Regions from separate parts of the Homo sapiens genome. Here all the other regions are linked to region 1. Evidence: promoter capture Hi-C in 16 types of primary human blood cells and fetal thymus (Javierre and others, 2016). All regions are on one chromosome and are shown on one strand. The core of a region is centred on a gene start or on the middle of the fragment in contact, and the rest is flanking DNA. Distances in the headings are between cores, read along the strand shown.

Evidence for each region. Contacts are between HindIII fragments. The CHiCAGO score rates a contact against its expected background, and 5 or more counts as called.
Region 2: a contact is called between a fragment that was not itself captured here and the fragment with the promoter of THBS1 in region 1, in 1 of 17 cell types (M2 macrophages). The highest score is 6.1, in M2 macrophages.
Region 3: a fragment that was not itself captured here is called in contact with the fragment with the promoter of THBS1 in region 1 in 6 of 17 cell types (monocytes, endothelial precursors, M1 macrophages and 3 more); the score reaches 13.4 in monocytes.
Region 4: a contact is called between a fragment that was not itself captured here and the fragment with the promoter of THBS1 in region 1, in 2 of 17 cell types (monocytes and endothelial precursors). The highest score is 12.5, in monocytes.
Region 5: a contact is called between a fragment that was not itself captured here and the fragment with the promoter of THBS1 in region 1, in 1 of 17 cell types (monocytes). The highest score is 9.7, in monocytes.
Region 6: a fragment that was not itself captured here is called in contact with the fragment with the promoter of THBS1 in region 1 in 4 of 17 cell types (monocytes, M2 macrophages, endothelial precursors and 1 more); the score reaches 14.3 in monocytes.

What each region holds. Positions count from the first base shown.
Region 1 is chr15:39,579,560-39,582,485 of GRCh38, reverse strand. It overlaps THBS1 (thrombospondin 1), which reads right to left and starts at 1,407. Exons shown (of 22, transcript NM_003246.4): 1 at 1,258-1,407; 2 at 562-657; 3 at 1-293. The coding sequence starts at 628. It overlaps LOC124903470, which reads right to left and starts at 2,679. Exons shown (of 1, transcript XM_047433405.1): 1 at 1,492-2,679. The coding sequence starts at 2,168. The coding sequence ends at 1,734. RefSeq lists silencers at 1,867-1,916, 1,927-2,156 and an enhancer at 1,579-2,316. The HindIII fragment of the contact is 3,699 bases long and covers 1-2,678 here.
Region 2 is chr15:39,079,621-39,082,546 of GRCh38, reverse strand. The region is part of intron 1 of LOC105370777 (a long non-coding RNA gene); the gene reads left to right. Among named protein-coding and RNA genes, the nearest start is that of LINC02915, 170 kb to the left of the region's middle. The HindIII fragment of the contact is 2,824 bases long and covers 152-2,926 here.
Region 3 is chr15:39,199,124-39,202,049 of GRCh38, reverse strand. All of the region lies in intron 1 of LOC105370777 (a long non-coding RNA gene), which reads left to right. Among named protein-coding and RNA genes, the nearest start is that of LINC02915, 50 kb to the left of the region's middle. The HindIII fragment of the contact is 3,871 bases long and covers 1-2,926 here.
Region 4 is chr15:39,238,105-39,241,030 of GRCh38, reverse strand. The region is part of intron 1 of LOC105370777 (a long non-coding RNA gene); the gene reads left to right. Among named protein-coding and RNA genes, the nearest start is that of LINC02915, 11 kb to the left of the region's middle. The HindIII fragment of the contact is 1,605 bases long and covers 744-2,348 here.
Region 5 is chr15:39,278,806-39,281,731 of GRCh38, reverse strand. The region is part of intron 1 of LOC105370777 (a long non-coding RNA gene); the gene reads left to right. Among named protein-coding and RNA genes, the nearest start is that of LINC02915, 30 kb to the right of the region's middle. The HindIII fragment of the contact is 5,147 bases long and covers 1-2,926 here.
Region 6 is chr15:39,295,762-39,298,687 of GRCh38, reverse strand. All of the region lies in intron 1 of LOC105370777 (a long non-coding RNA gene), which reads left to right. Among named protein-coding and RNA genes, the nearest start is that of LINC02915, 47 kb to the right of the region's middle. The HindIII fragment of the contact is 750 bases long and covers 1,180-1,929 here.

The sequences.
Region 1 (2,926 bases), core at 158-2,657:
CACCACGCTGAAGACCTGGCCAGAGTGGTCTTTCCGCTCCAGGGCCAGCAGCGTGCCCCGGGTCTTCTTCATCTGCCTCAGGGATGCCAGAAGGAGGAAACCCTTTTCTGCCCGCACAGCATCCACCAGGTCTTGGAACTTGTCATCAGGCACAGGGGGGATCAGGTTGGCATCCTCGATGCGGAAAGCTGGGCTGGAAGGGTCGGGGCCCTTCACCAGTCGGCGCCCAGACCCCTTGCGGGCGGCCCCGGTGAGTTCAAAGATGTCAAACACGCTGTTGTCTCCGCCAGACTCTGTTAGACAGGAGAGAACACAAAGTGAGCTTTCTAGGCTGGGACCAGCAGTAGGGGGCTGAGTCCTTAGGGGTGGAGACAAAGGGTTGGGGTGAAAACTCCTGGCAACCACTGAAAGAGGTGAATAAATACCAGGATCAGAGTGAAGCTGCGTCCTGATGTCCAGTCAGGCTCAAGAGGGAGAGGACAGCACGTGAGGGGGCACACCTGGGATAGCCAGCACCTCTTCCTTGTCCCTCCTTCCCCTAAAGGTGCCACACAAACTCACCTGGAATGCGGTTGGTGCCACACACATGCATCAGGAACAGGACGCCTAGTCCCCAGGCCAGCCCCATGGTGGAGCTGTTGGTGCCCAGCAGGGATCCTGTAGCAGGAAGCACAAGAGCCGAGGGTCAGAGATCAGCTAGGCAGGGAGGGACGGTGCGCAGAAACGGGGCTGGGCATGGGGACAGGGCCGGGACCATCCCTCTTTGACCCCGCGTTTGCTGAAATGAAGGACAACAGGATTACTTTCCAGAGAGCATGAGAGAGAGAGAGAGAGAGAGAGAGAGAGGTGGAGGAAAGAGATGCTGGTTTTAAAGTGTGGGGGGCGCAAGACCAACAATTTGGGGGCTTTTGGGAAGTCGAAGGTGAGCAAGATCAGGAACTGTAGTTTGGGGTTGCAGGGAGGGCAGGGGAAGTACAGACTCTTCCCTGGAGTGCTGATACAAAGGCTTAAGGAGGACTTCAGAGAGTAAGGAAATCTTGGGGTGTCCTGATGAGTTGGTTTGTGAACCTCAAGGCTGGAGAGGATGGCTCTGGAGCCTTGCCCTGAAGAGTCCTCCAGCGGCTGAGAGGAGCGGGCTGGGGTAGGCGAGCGGGGAGAGTGTAGGTTCCGGGGTCCACCAGAGGGACTGAAGCCTCAGCGCTCCAGGTGGATGTCCCGGGCAGCTTTGGTCCTCGGCGGCCGCCGGGGGCGACTTACCTGTGTGTACCGGAGCGCGGCGGCCGGGAGCGGTGGCGAGGGCGGCGAGGGCTGGAGGGGCGCGGGGAATGCCTGTGCGTCCGGAGTAGAGGTTGCTCCTGGAGAGCGACAGGAGCCCTGAACTCGCAGGCCAGCTCGGGCGCAGCGGCTGGCAAGGCGGAGGAGCCGCGCGCTTTTAAAGGGGCGCTCGCATTCCTGGGGATTCCTCCGGCCAATGGGCGGCGGCCGGGCAGGAAGCGGGAGGTGGGGGCCAGTCTGGGCTCCTCTCTCCGCCCCCCGCTGCCTGGCGCGCAACTTTCCAGCTAGAAAGTGAAGGGGGCGGGGGTCGGGGCTTGGGAGCACTAGAACTTCTCAGAAAAGTCGGTGCCCGCCCACGCAGCCTTGGCGCGCACGGGCTCGGCGCTCGTACTCTTGCGCCACGCGGGCTCGGGGTGATCAGCAAGCATCCCGAAAAGGGACGGGGCTGGGGAGACCACCTAGGAGGGCCCGCGGGGTGGCGCAGGGGCTTTCGGGCGAGCTGATCTCCCGGAATGCCTGGTTGATGGCGAGAGGTGGATACTAGAGACTGGGCCCGTTTTGTAAAAAGAAAAATGGGCCGACGGGGCGCAGGGGACACCAAGAGAGCCATTCGTTAAAGTACCTGCCCCTCGGGCCCTCGCTGACTCTCCTCCACCGTCCCCGTGGGGTGAGGACACGCGTCCCCCGAGCGCCTGTCCTGAGCTGGCCCCACGCCCGCCCCGGAGGGAGGTGAGCGCGGCGTCGGCGGGGCCGGCAGGTTGGTGCGCCGCGTTCGCCTTCGCTGCCTTCGGGCCCTTTCCTGCCGCGGCTGCCAGGGGGCCCACAGAGACGCCTCTCCCGCTGCCGCGGCGCTCCCTCGGCCGGCCGCTTGGGGGCGGTGTGCGTATTCTCATCAAGGGGCCCGGGGAGGACAGCTGCTTTCTACTCGAATTTTAAGGAAACTTACTCGTATCCAGTTTCCACAAGCCAAATTGAAATTGTGTCTTGAAAAACAGTTTTTGTGCCCACTCGTGCTTCTTAACGTGACTCCTGTTTGGAGAATTTGCAGAACCATCTGGCTCCAGAGTCTTCAGCTATTTACAGAGCAGACCCATAGAGTAATAAATTACTCTCTGCCTATTATTGTATTTCCCTTTTTCCTCCCTAAACGTTCTTTTCATTTTTCGGCTCCTGAACCCGAGGTGTGGGTTACATTTCTGTGGGTGCACACATTGCCATGAGTGCCGCTGCCTAGTGCTTCTGTCATTGAAGTCTGGTCTCCAAGCCACTGTCCCAAGCCAGCATGACTCTAGCTTCCTGGAATTCCATTCATCTCTTCGGGATGGGACGTCAGCCGCCTCGCTCCCTCTGCTGTGATCCAGCGCTATCGGGCTCGCTCCGAGGCCAGGGCATAGGTAGAAGCTTGACCAAATAAGGATCTCAGCACGGGCAGGGGGAAACCCCTGGGGTTCACCTCCCATCTTAGCACTTAAACCTGGCAGGACTCCCGACTGCTGCAAACAGCCAAGTGTTTACATTCATCAAACAGCAGTTTCGCTTTTCTTGCGTGGGAGTGTTGTATGACAAGATGGTGTGTGTGTGTGTGTGTGTGTGTGTGTATTACGGAAAGAGTGTTTTCTAGTTACTCAATATGTATATAAAATGCCTCTAA
Region 2 (2,926 bases), core at 314-2,813, 500 kb after region 1:
CCCATGACAGCCACTTCTATTACCATGCCAGAATAGCCACAGCCCCAGCCTCTCACTTTTAGATTCCCCCAAGTTGGAATTGGATGCAGGTACTATGTTCTCAAACTCCAAGGGGTGCATGTCAAGATCTACACCTGTTTCACTTCAAGCTTCTCTTCAGTTGACTTGAGATGAGGGATAACCCCTTTCTTCATCCTCCAGGAGAGACTTGACATCATAGAAGCTGTCCATGACATTCTTCTCCACTGATCTCTTCAACCTCTCTCATGTAGTTAAGAGGTGGGTGAGGGGCTAATGTTGACAGAACTGATATTAGAATCTTTCAGCTTGCTCTGCATAGGTATCCTAGCACCACACTCTAAGACCAGGGAGGTGGAGGGTGGTACCTGGCACTTTTTTTTTTTTTTTGTCATTATTGGCCTTCGTATCATCCAAAAAGCTCTGAAACCAAGAATTCTATTTTAACATCCTATTACCAGAATATAGGTAAAAATGACAACTCCGATAAAGTCTTATTACAAAGTTAGACTAATCCTAATTAATAAGGGATTATCAAATAACTTATTTGATAAATTCTAAACTGTTCTCTATTCCAAACCCCAACCCTAGGAGTGGCCATGATTTAAGAGGGTGGAAATCTAAGGTATAGAATTAGGATTTCTTTGCAAGTGAAATTCATAAAAGTCAATCAAATTTAAAGGATGAGATTTGCTCTCCTGTTTTGTAAATCATGAATGATGGAGATCTGAAAACTCAAATTGAAATGGTATGAATAAAGGCTGCTATAACTTATTGATGGTGGCCATTTGGATTATGTCATTCTTCACTTGGGCCACTCACCAATAATTACTCTAAAAGTTTGACTACCTAAGTACCTTTTTCTATTGAAAGAGAGGGAGAGAGGGAAAGAGAAAGAGAAGATAGTAAAAAAAGAGAGAAAGAGAGAGATAATGCTAACTTGGTAGTACTTTCTCCTTATAAATTAATAAATTGAAAATGTGGCTTTTAATACTCATGTGTCTCCCTAGGTTTAACAACACGAATTAAACTTGAGTATAAGATGGATTAACCCTGGCTTAGCCTAAAGAATATCAGCCAGGTGTGGTGGCTCATGCCTGTAATCCTAGCACTTTGGGAGGCCGAGGCAGGTGGATCACCTGAGGTCAGAAGTTCGAGACCAGCCTGACTAGCATGGTGAAACCCCGTCTCTACTAAAAATACAAAATTAGCCGGGTGTGGTGGCACATGCCTGTAATCCCAGCTACTTGGGAGACTGAGGCAGGAGAATCGCTTGAATCCGGGACACAGAGGTTGCAGTGAGCCAAGATTGTGCCATTGCGCTCCAGCCTGGGTGACAAGAGCAAAACTGTGAAACACACACATACACACCATATATATATATATATATATATATATATATATATATATATATATATATATATATATATGAGTTTTGTGGTATGTCTGATTAGGATGTGGGGTTGTTGGCTCTGAATTGGGTTTTGATTTATTTCGGCTAAAGTATCTACAAGAAATTCTGTGCACAGACATGGGAGGCAAGGGAGAGCTCTAAAATGGGTTTGGACTTATTTTGGCTAAAGTATCCACAAGAAATTCTGTGCACAGACATGGGAGGCAAGGGAGAGAAAACAGGGGGAAAGGGCTATTCTGGTACCACATAGTGCCCTGTGACCAGTTTTTGGGCACCCATCGAGAGCAATGGCCGAATGGAATACAGGCCTCTGCTATTGCTTTGAGCAGTGGGAAAAGCTCCCAAGGAGTGGCAGCATTCTTTGGAGGGTGTGGAGATGGTGGGGTCCGGAGGGCTCACTGGATGCACCCATTGCTCAGGTGAGTTGGGACAGCATGAGCCAAGGCCCTGTGGGAGTAGCATGGGCAGGGCCTGCTTGAACACACCTGAGACATGTGTGGGGAGCTCTGAAGTACCTGGAGGAGACTCCTCAAGTGGCCAAGGTCCTCCTGTTATACGTGGTCCTCCTGATATACATGGTCTTCCTGATATAAGTGAAGGCAGCAAGCCTACAGTCTTTGAGTAATAACACCAATGTAAATGTGTTTGTGCTCACAGGCTGGGGGCATTCAGGTTGTGTGAAACTCTGGACCCGCAATATAGAGGACCAGACCCTAACGTGGTGTCTATCTACTACTTGGCGAGCCCTTGCTTAAAAAATGTGTTGCCAGCTGGGCGCAGTGGCTCATGCCTGTAATCCCAGCACTTTGGGAGGCCGAGGCAGGCAGATCACGAGGTCAGGAGTTCGAGACCAGCCTGGCCTACATGGTGAAACTGCGTCTCTACTAAAAATATAAAAATTAGCCAGATGTGGTGGCGGATGCCTGTAATCCCAGCTACTCAGGAGGCTGAGGCAGGAGAACTGCTTGAACCCAGGAGGCGGAGGTTACAGTGAGCCCAGATCACACCACTGCACTCCAGCCTGGGTGACAGAGCAAGACTCCATCTTGGGGGAAAAAAAAAAATCTATTGCCCTCACTCTGATCTCAGCAAGGTCAAATTTGAAGAAAAATCAATTATCTGTTTTTTTTTTTAAAGAAAACCTATTTTGCATTCTTGAAAATCCTAGCTAAGGTCTCAATTGATCATTAATATTTGTTCTTGAATAGAAGTTTCAAAAGACAGAAGAGTCCTCAGATCACTAAAGCTATAAATGGCAGTGAAAGGGCAGCATCTCCACACTTTCCCTCAGAGGCTAACATATAAGAAATTCCCATATATGGGAGCCAGGAAGAAGGAGGAAGTTTGGGCAAACATCCAGGGCTGTCTGTGGAATAAGTAAGATGGGCTTTAGTAAATTCCCAGCACAGAGGTGCTGACGGCCACCTGACTGAGTCATGCACTGGTGCATCATCGAAGATAAACTGTTACAAAATGAATCAAAATTCTTAAGCC
Region 3 (2,926 bases), core at 318-2,817, 380 kb after region 1:
TGCATGTGGGCAAATCTGAATATTTGGTGTATTACAGTTAAAAATGTGATTTACTTTGGATAAAAGTGGCTCAGCACTGAGGAATGATGAAGAATGAAACTGGTGAAGTGTTAAAGACTGGAGTGATATCTGATAGATAAGTGGTGTAAGGGACAGTAGAATAGCGGGTATTCCTATGGCAGATAAACAATAGACAGCCACTCTAAGAATGGGGCTTAAAACTTGGGTTTCCATGGAGGGAGTTCATGAGTTTGGAAAGAAACATATATTTCACTAACCTCTAACTGAAATTTGCCGTTTTCTTCATTTATGAATGTCGGCAACACATCGCATCTGAATTATTTCCTATGACTTTGTTACAAATACAGATCATAGATCTTTCCATATTCTGTTATGGTGGCTAGAGATATCTTGAAATATCATTTGTGCTATCAGCATATTTAAATTATGGTGCTTATAGGTTAAGTACTAAATCATGTTAATGTAATAATAGGGATTCATATAAATTATATGAATTGTATATTTGCACGCCCCCACGAAAAAAGCTCTATATTTCTATATTGATTTCCCTGCAGATTTTTTTAAATTATAGCGTTCACAACTACAGAACTAATTATGTTTTATATCCTCTTTGAAGCTACACTAATTCCTACCTTAATTATCATCACCTGCTGAGGGTAAATTTTGTTTTAAAACATTTTTGAGAACTGTATTTCAGTGTGATTATTTTACTTGTAATCTTGTGTATTTTATGTTACATATTTAAAGATATTATTTCTGAAAGGGGTCCTCAGGATCTGCCAGACTTTCACAGGGGTTCCTGTCTCAAAAAGGGTTAAGCTCTTCTGCTGTAAGCAAAAGATGACAAACTCAAATGCCTACAGCACAGGCCTCAAGAACTGACTGAAGAAAGAGACCCACTAGAAGGCCAGTATAACAATCTAGAGAAAAAAAATTAGGGGGAATTTCGTGGGGTCCCAATAAATAACAGCCCCATTTTTCACTTAAATTTGGATCCAACTGAAAAAAGAAAAGACAAATAATAAGTCAGCTAGAGTTCAAAGTATCACCATTTCAATGAACACACCTGATATTAGAGAATGTGGCTTATTTCTTGGCTGTCACAACTCTAGGGGCCCTAGGTGAGAGAGGTAAGAGGACTGTAAAGTAAAGATGCCTCCTGGAGTCCTGGAGCTTTAACCCATTCAGCAATAGCATGCTGCAGCCTGCTTCATCTCCACCACTACAGACACTGATTCCTGCTGGACTTAAAGCAACTTACCCAGCAGGGCTGGTTTGGGCAGGCTTCCTCCTGCTGAGATGAGATTTTTCTGCAGGAGGCTTTGAAATGGGTCAGAACAATGCAGTAATTAAATGGACTCCAAGGCCAAAAATATTCTTTCTATTCTGTTTCCCTTGCTCAGTGCTGTCCTGCTACAACTGTTCAATATAATCTATTGGAAGTAACTGTCCAATATAACCTACTGGAAGTTATGAAATAAAATTAAGTGAAAATGCAGAGAGAAACTCCACGAATAAAATGCCAAGAAAGCGAGGATGCCCCAAATTTGAATATAGTTCCTCCCTCTGTGAAATTCTCTCAGAAGAATTAAAATCGATACATTAGTCCCTTCGCAAGTTTAAGTCTAATGTTAACAAAACCCAAGTGAATTAAAGTCTGAATCAAACTCTACTGCTTTGGTGAATTAAAAGCCCAACCCAACGTGACTAATTATATACTGACTTCCCATTAAGGGTTGGGGTGAGGGGTCTCCACAGTGTTAGCAGAGTGAGGGGTCCTGCCAGGGCTTGCAGCTGGGGCTCGCTCTTCTTGAGGCTGGTGTGGTTCCTGCAGGACTGCAGAAAATATATGCTGGGTTTCTGATGACTTTACTGATGAAAAGTTTCAAGCAGTTATTATTTTCACTGGTGGGCCACACCTACCATATTGAGAAAAGAAGCCAAACCTCATCCTCTAAAGCAATTATCCCAGAAAAAATTACATTCTCAGAATGTGGGGCTTAGTATATTGTCAAAAACTATGGCCCCAGATGCAATGTCAACATGAAGGGGAGGCTGAATGAGTCCTGGAATGGTAGATGGAAGAACCTCCTCCCAAACATATCCACATCCTAATCCCATGGACCCTGTCATACGTTACTTTGACTTTTCAGACATCATTAAGGATTTGAGATGGGCAGATTATCCTGGATTATCTAGAAAGGCTCCATATAATCACAAGGGTCCTTATAAGAGGAAGACAAGAGGGTCAGAGTTAGAGAGATTTACAGCTGCTACGCTACTTCCTTAAGGATGAATCAAGGAATACAGGTGGCCTCTAGAAGCTGGAAAAATCAAGGAGATGGATTTTCTCCTAGATGCTTCAGAAGGCCTGCAGCCCTGTCAACATCTTGATTTTAGCCTAGTAGATCCCACTTGGGACTTCTGACCTCCAGAAGTGTAAGATAATAAATTTGTGCTGTTTTAGGTCACTAAGTTCCTGGCAATTTGATACAGCAGCAAAAGAAAACTAATAATACAGTTGATTGAGAGCTTGTATTCTGGGGCAAATCCAGCCTGTATTCAGATCCCTGCTCAGCCACTAACTAAATATGTGGCCTTGCTGCCTACTAGCATAGGCTGAGGTCCCTGAATCACTAGCATGTGTGTGATAAGACAAGTGGCTTGTACTGTTTAGGGGAAAGACTTCACCATGAGATTCCCTGCATCCACTTAAGGCAGGCCTTTTCTAAGTCTCGTGCAATTGGTGTCTGCTGATGACATTCCTGCACATGTGACTTGGCTGAGCCCCAGGCTTTCTGAGTCCCCCAGCCACTACTTTGTCAAAGCTGAATTGTCCTGGTATTTTCCCTGAGTGTTACGTCTTTGTTGAGGGCAATGGAATCTTGCTTTAGGCTGTCACAAT
Region 4 (2,926 bases), core at 297-2,796, 340 kb after region 1:
CAGTGAATACTGACCAATTAGTGTGCCTTCAAATGAAGGATTCATTGTATATTTTAACTGAAATCAATAAACTCTAAGTGTGTAAATGATGAATAAAAATAGACTACCTTGTAGGAGAAGAATCCTTCTCTCTTTTCAGTGGAAGCATTGTTTGACTGCTTTCCTCAGGGCTTTGGTCCTGTTCTCCTTGGGTCTGACAGGAGAGAGACAAAAACAAGCATGGTGTCTTATGTCTTCACTATTAGTTTTGCTTCCTCATCATCTCCTTTCAGCAAAACCATCTGAAGGTCCACTATCCATTGACTTCCATGGGGTGACGGTGTTACAAGCTTTTAACTTTCACTGGTCTGAAGAAGGTGGAGTTTTATTTTTTCTCTTGTTTCTATCGATCCCTCCTCCAGCACCCATAGAATTGGCCCCAGTCTAGGTGCCAACATGGCACTTGGTTTGGTTTTCATTGGCCCTCTATTCAGTCCCCACCACCTCACCTCCCTCTCACTCCCTTGGAGAGCATCTCACAGCCTTGGGATCTGACAGTTGGCATGTCGTTAAGGACAACAGCAACAACAAAATGACCTAAACTCTTCTCTGGGGGTCCACACAACATAGGTTGTAGCCTTAGTCTTCTACATTTAAAACAATGTAGTTAGCTCTTGCCTTTAACAAACCTAATTAAAGGTAATGTTTGAATGGGAAAAGCTGAAATTGAGATGTTTTGGCTTTACCAATAGCTAGACAAAGCTTGTGCCAAGGCATTCTAACAGATCTGGTTTTGTTAGGTTGTGGCTCTCATGCTAGATCACGGCAAACCCTTTCCTAAATAAATGGAAATCTAGACTACTGGGCCACACTTCATGTCCTGCTTCTACCCAGTGCAATTTTTAAAGACTGTAATGAATATGTGCACATTTTAAATTTATTTTTATATACATATTTGCCCATTTTGAGTCAGAATGAATTTGGGAAATTTTAATCTCCGAGACTAGGCAATGTTATTCATTTACTTAGGTAAAACAATTATTCAGTTCCTTGGAAAACATAACAGTTGCAATATTATTTTGCTCTAAGTCTGTTACTACAATCTGTATATGGTGAATGTGCTTTACTGAGAAACATTTGGGGAAATTGTGGCACAGGTGATTCTATCTCATCAGAACTCAACATTGTTAGTGGCTTTATCAACCATGAAAAACCGATGACTAATGTAGTAATAGTACATGTGGCTTTTTAAGGAATGTAGATGCATTGAGGAAGTGATTTATTCATGTGTATATTATAAATAAGCAGATAACCACATAAAACCTGTTGTAAAAATGTCAGTAAGGATAAGTACAGGAAAAAAAAACCACCCATATTAGATTCTTTTTTTTTTTTTAAATAAAGGACAAACATAGTCCACTGTGGAAGACTGCAGTTTATCTCACAGTGGCCATCTCATCTAGACATTCTTTGGCCTAGGCATGAATGTGTTAGGCTTTCAGTTCTGTGTTCATGAAGACATTTTTGACCACTCCAATAATATATCTAGAGATGTGTCTCTTTCTCTCACAAGTTTAATGAAAAACAACCTGTGTACTATCTGTGCTTGTTAGAATGGAGTTGTTACTACAACCTTTCCTCCCATGTGAAGGATTACAGGATTATCTATCTTGCTTACTCTTGCTCTGCCTCTTGTATTCCATGTCTAACATTCCTGTTTCAGATCTACCTTCTCATGCTTGGCTTTGCCTTTATTCCCCAGTCACATCTTCTTCAAGTTCAATGGTAGAAAAATAATGGAAGAACCAGTTATTAAGTACATTCCTAGAAGATCTCTGGAAGACCCTACCAAGAGATCTTGGGAATGGAAGGCAGATATATGTACAGGGATTAGGTCTGTGTAGTTTAGTGCAAAAGGCATGGCTCTCTTACAAGCTCAATCACCTTATCTTCTCCAAGACGTTTATTTTTAATCTACTTAATTGAGGGGGATAAGACTTCCTTGGAGGGTGTTTCTGTTAATTAAATAGACTGAAGTATGTACAATTGATTAGCATGGTATACACATATATTAGATGCTCAATAGCTTGTTTCTCATCCCCTGTGGCAAGATCTTTTCATGAGAAAAGAAACTTTATACTGATTGAAAGCTCTAAACTGCTCCCAGAATATCCCAGAACTCTTGATATGACAAGAATGTTCTTTCTATTCAGGAACAGAAAGTTTTGGGCCAAAGGTAGAGGATGTCTATTTAGACATAGCTCAGCAGGTGGAAAAGAGGAGATGATGCTCAGGCATGAGCACCCGCAGGCTGCATTCTTCTCTGTAGCTTCAATCCAAGGAGGCAGAGTTACAGTGAGAGGAAAGCTTCAAGAAAATTTGATGTTTTCTTCTTTATCAAATGTCTCATCTTGCAAGGGTTTCATTTTTCACTGCATATTTCGAAGAGCCTGGGTTTCCTGATGCCATTTGGAGTCTTGGCTTTTAAGACCTTTCTCAGTCTTAATCTCAGAGGAACTTTCTTATCCTGCAATCAAGAAAAATGAAAAGAATTGGAGTCCGTTTTACATTTACGAGGGTGTTGACATTTGACGAGACGAAGAATCCAGATGTCATGGGCCTCAGTGGGGCTGCTTTCTCTGGCTCAGCCTTGGTGGGCAGTATAACCAGGGGATGCAGCTCCGGATCTCTCTGCCCTGTGCATAGGAGAGGGGAGAATGCCATTAAGAAGCAGACTGGAATGACATATTGCTTCTGCTGCTCTACTGACTTTCCCCCCATACCTATTTGGTTAGTTGTTTGCCATAATGACTTGGAAAATGATGCCAGTTTTAAGACAACTTCTTTTCATGGCATAAGAACTTATTAATCAAAAATTTACAAAATACACAATAAAATTAGTATTTCTAATTTTATTTTATTAGTATAACTATTATTTTTATTTTTA
Region 5 (2,926 bases), core at 190-2,689, 300 kb after region 1:
TCTCAGCAAACTATTGCAAGGACAAAAAAACAAACACTGCATGTTCTCACGCATAGGTGGGAATTGAACAATGAGAACACTTGGACGCAGGAAGTGGAACATCACATACCGGGGCCTGTTGTGGGGTGAGGGGGGCTGGGAGGGATAGCATTAGGAAATATACCTAATGTAAATGACGAGTTAATGGGTGCAGCACACCAACATGGCACATGTATACATATGTAACAAACCTGCACGTTGTGCACATGTACCCTAGAACTTAAAGTATAATTAAAAAAAAAAAAGTTAAAGTATGTTAGAACATGCTGGAGAAAACAACCCCTGGATATCTGCCACAGCTATTCTCCATATTCCAGGGAATAAAACAAAACCACCTCACCAAGAATCCTTAGAATGCTCCTTGCTATGAAAGAAACGAATTTTATCTCTAAACAACCCACAGAGGTGAGATGTCAATGGCTCCACCAGCTACACCAGTAGTATGTGTCATTTCCCACTTATCATTACCAGTTCCTTTAAATGAAGAACATTTTGAGCAACAGGTTTTTTAAAGGAGTTGGAGAGTATTCTCACATTAATATCTATAGAATGATAATTAGAAAAGATAAAAGGATACTTTTATCATATGGATTAAGAATGATTTTCTTATCTAAATATGACTACAAATGTGTTCACATTTTTGTTCCATCTGTCCTGATCCCTGAGTCCTTAGCACATTGGCAACAATGATTGGCTCAATTCTTTCACAAAGTTTATTTTGACTAATTGGTTAAATTTTTAATAATTCGGATATAGTTTTTTTTTTTTTTTTTTTTTTTTTTTAAACAGAGTCTCGTTCTGTCACCCGGGCTGCAGTTGCGATGGCACGATCTCAGCTCACTGCAACCTCTGCCTCCTGGGTTCAAGTGACTCTTGTGCCTCAACCTTCCAAGTAGCTGAGATTACAGGCACACGCCACCACACCTGGCTAATTTTTGTATCTTTAGTAGAGACGGGTTTTACCATGTTGGTGAGGCTGGTCTCGAACTCCTGACCTCAGGTGATCCACCCGCCTCACCCTCCCAAAGTGTTGGGATTACAGGCGTGAGCCACTGTGCCTGGGCATATTTACAGTTTTAAAATCCCTTTTAGTCACTGTGCAGCCCCCATGATCCCATGTTCTATAGCTGACTAGAGGTTTATGAACTTTTTTAAACGTAAGTTAGGATGGCTATTAGTGGGTAAACCTTCTCTTCCAAACTCTGTGGGTGCTGCTCATAAACATGATACTTGTTCCTCAAATAAATGCTCAATTTGTTAATTTGCAATTTGGGATTTTCAAATTTATGGCTTCCAAGTTCTACATCAGATACTAAAATCAGGTTATCAGATAGGCAGGTAGTTTAGCAAAGTACATATGCTTATTTTCTTAGGTTCTAGAAAATCTGGTCTAAATCTAAACCTGGTCATTCTTTTATGCTTGGAAAATCCTCCTACTTCAGGAGTTGGGGGATGACCATAGTCAAGAACTGAAAAGAATGTTCAGAGTTGGGAGCTGAGCTGAACTTGTGGTAACGAATCTATGCCTCCCTTTCTTCAGTAGCTTTGAAGGGAAGTCACAGTCAATGAAATGAAGAAAAAAAAAGGAAGAATGTGGGGTTTGAGGCGTATTTTTATTGAAGTTTATTAAATTACATTACCTAAATGTAATTATAGTAAAATGCACATTTCTCAAATTTTGATGATCCCAGTTACACAGAACATTTACACAGAACTTTACATCACCCTAGAAAATTCCCTCGCGCTTTTTCCCAGTCAGTTCCCCACTCCCTCCCAAAAAAGTTAATCTCTGTTTCGATATCCTGACAAATTAGCTTTGCCTGTTTGCCTATTCTTTTTATTTACATATTGTTAACTTTTTAATTTCTAAAATTTTTGTGGGTACATAGTATGTATTTATGAGGGGCATGAGATGTTTTGATACAGTCTTTGCCTGTTCTTGAAATTGACATAAATGGACTCTTGTGTCTGGCTTCCCCATTGCACCTCTGCCCTCAACGTATTATCTTTGAGATTCATCCAAGTTATCACATGTATCGGTAGTTAATTCATTTTTTCTGCTTTGGTTGACTCATTTTGCATTGTATAAATATACCACAATTTGTTTATCCATTTTCCTTTTAATGGACATCATGTTGCTTTTAGTTTTTGGCTATTGTGAATAAAGCTGCAAAGAACAATCTTGTACAAGTTACTTGGTGGACATATGTTTTCATTTCTTTTGGGTGAACACCAAGGAGAGGAATTGCAAGATCGTAAGTAACATTTGGCATTTTTAGGCTTTTTAATTTTAACCATTCTAGTGGGTGTATAGTGGTATCTCATTGTAGCTTTAACTTTTATTTTCCTGATTACTCACATGTTGAGCATTCTTATATCTTCTTTTGTGAAATGTCTGTCCAAATCTTTTGCCCATTTTTATTGGGTTATTTGTTTTGTTTAAAAACTACTTAATTGCAAGAATTCTTTATATTGCCCAAATACATATCGTTTGTGAAACATATGTATTTTTAGTGTTCTATTTTTTTTTTTTGAGACGGAGTCTTGCTCTGTTGCCCAGGCTGGAGTGCAGTGGTGCGATCTTGGCTCACTGCAAGCTCCGCCTCCCGGGTTCATGCCATTCTCCTGCCTCAGCCTCCTGAGTAGCTGGGACTATAGGCGCCTGCCATCACGCCCGGCTACTTTTTTTTTTTTTGTATTTTTAGTAGAGACGGGGTTTCACCGTGTTAGCCAGGATGGTCCGGATCTCCTGACCTCGTGATCCTCGCGCCTCGGCCTAGTATTCTATTTTATATCGTTCCTTGACTTTTTATTTTTACCCTTTGCTTTATTCTTCAGTAGTTGATCCTAGGGATCCATCTATCTATCTATCTATCTATCTATCTAT
Region 6 (2,926 bases), core at 305-2,804, 280 kb after region 1:
AAAAAGGTCTGTACCTTCATCATCTATGGTTTTCTGCCCTTATCACAGACCCTAAACTTATAAACGAGTAGAGCCACCTCATGTCACCTTCAGTTGCCTTCTGCTTCTGCTCCTAAAAGAATCTGGGAGGAACTTCTAAGTCTGGTAAAAAGGGTGGATGGTACATAAGCTTCTCACTTTGTGTCTTATAATAACATTCCTCAGGCTTTCTAAAAGGCCAACACCTTGAAAAAGTATGTCAAATTGCTTAGTGTTTTGAATGTTTTAAATGTTGGAGGCAGCTTTGCTTGGTTCTGATGGTACATTCAGCATTTAATTGGAAACCAATTTCCCTCCTTATTTTCTTGAAGGAGATTTGGTCCTAGACAACTGTACTGCAGAACTGGGGGGACTTCCAAAAAGGAAACATACTCCCAAGATTTTGTTTCTACTCAAATACCAGAGCAAAGCTCTGACCTCATACAAATCAGTTGAGAGAAGCCCATTTCTGGCTGTGTATTTGGATCCCAGAATATTATTTCCCCTTGCATTTCATGATTCCACCCCTCCAGATTTGGAGTCATTCACTGTATGATATTTGTGGTGACATCTTAGACTTCAGTTTCCGTAATGAATGCACCTGAGTTCCAGCACTAATTTTCTCTTCCCTGGGAAAAACAAAAAAACACAAAACCATTTGTATGGCCCCCTGAGTTGTCACTTCATCAATAAGTGAGGCTCTGTGCTTTGGGATAGTTCAACAAATAGTTTTGCCACTGACCACAGATTTGGATGAAATGATCCTTTACTGCAGACAGCACAGGAGTGATCCAAATCAGGACATATGGGGAATGGTTTCTCTTGCCATGTGGCTTTTGCATAGGATCATATAACCACCAGGCCAACAGACCCACTCATTAACCCCATCAACTGCAAATAGAGTAAGTCTCAGGAAAAAATAGCTAAATTCAAACTACACAAATGGCTTCTGTTTTCTCTTGTCATTACATCCTTGGATCTTAGGCATTACATTAAAATTGATTGGGTTTGTTTTTTTTGGTCAAAAACCTCCTCAGATCTTTTCGCTTTAAAATTTTCCAAAGCCTCCTTACATGTCTATGGTTTTTGTTTAAGAATTTAGAAAACAATGAACAAAAACCTTTCTCCCCACCCAGTTCAAACTTTTCATTTTGTTAAGCTTGTAAGTGTTATTACCTTTTTCATAAGGGTTCATTTAAATTAAGCCTCAATGATTTGGAGTGAAATTAATTAATAACTAATATAAATGTATTAAAGATCATGTCTATATATAAATCTATTTGACTGTTTTGACTACATGAAACCTACTTAGTAAATTGGAACTCACTGAATAACCAGTTATTTGGGTATGTATATCTTGTTGAGTGTTTGGGTGATATCTCTCCTTTTCTGTTGGGTGAAACCTCTACTTTTCTTTTAGGTTCCACAAATAAATGAACATAGGACTGAGAGGGAAATGCAACTGAGAATAGTTACATATTTTGTTCAATTACTAAGAAACATGTCATTGTGAGACTAGTGCTGTACTCAGGTGTCATTTGCATTTTCTTTTCTTCAGAAGGCCTAACACATTACTCTGGTGGATCTTCTACTCATTAATACTCCATTCCACTTGGTGTTTGAGTCCTTTGAGATTCAATTTCATTTTGTGACAATGCTGACTTACTGGGGCAGCCGACAGTATGAGAAGAATGAATTGTGTACATAATGTTTGATTTGTACCTTCATGTATTATAATATGTCAATGTATTGACAAGTGGTAAGAAACTAGAGCCAGTGGGGAAGATTAGTGGGAAGATGTTGCCTGCTGCTGCCTGTGTAAATTCTCACACAAGTGGCCCTTGTACCTAGCAATTTTAAGTGATGTTTCATTTGTGATTGTGGAAAACTAGAAGGAGCATAGCAAAAGCTTCTTTTTCACTTGCTCTTTCCTTGGGAAGTTCTAGAAGAAAGGGACAGGAGAGCATGCTGATTTTAAAGAGGGAAAGTTTTTAGTCTTTCAGCACCTCAAGAATCAACCTGTAGTCTGTCTTCTGTACCCTAAAATGTCTTAGCACCCATGTGCTTAATGATACTGAGTTACAAAGTTAAAGTCAGGCCTGGCGTAAATGTACATTCATCCTTTCTTGGATTGTAAGACTTTTGGGGACAGGATTTGTGTTTTATTTTTTCTGAATCCTGCAGAGTGTTTAATAGTAAAATAATGAAAATAATAGTAATACTGGCAGCTAACAATTGTTGAGTATTCACTATAAACCAAGCAATATATTAGGCACTTTATATACGTTATCTTGTTTAATCTTGATTATAATTCTAGTGTTGTTATTATTAATACCTTATAGATAAAGGAATTGAGGCTTAACGTTTGCATAACCTGCCCAAGGTCATGCAGCTGGTGTAGTGGGTTGAATAGATTCCCGTAAGATATGTGCAAGTCCTAATCCTTGGTACCCGTGAATGTGACCTCATTTGGAAATAGGGTCGTTGTTGATATAATTAAGAATCTTGAGATGAGATTATCTTGGATTTAGGGTGGGCCCTAAATCCGATGATTGGTCTCCTTTTGAAAGAAAAGAAGGGAGATTTGAGACACATGCAGAGAAGAACACCATGTGAAGATGAAGACAGATTAGAACGATGCATCTACCAGAGAAGGAATGCCAAAAATTGCTGACTACCACCCCAAACTGGGAGACAGGCATTGAACAAATTATCCCTCAGAGGCTTCAGAAGCAACCAGCCCTTCTAACACCTTGATTTCAGACTTCTGGCCTCCAAAACTGTGAGAAAGTTAACTTATTGTTTTTAAGCCACTTAGTTTGTAATAATTTGGTCCAATAGCTGTAGAAAACCAGTATAGCTAGGAAGTGATGGAATGTACACTCCATTATTGGAAACATGGCCCCAC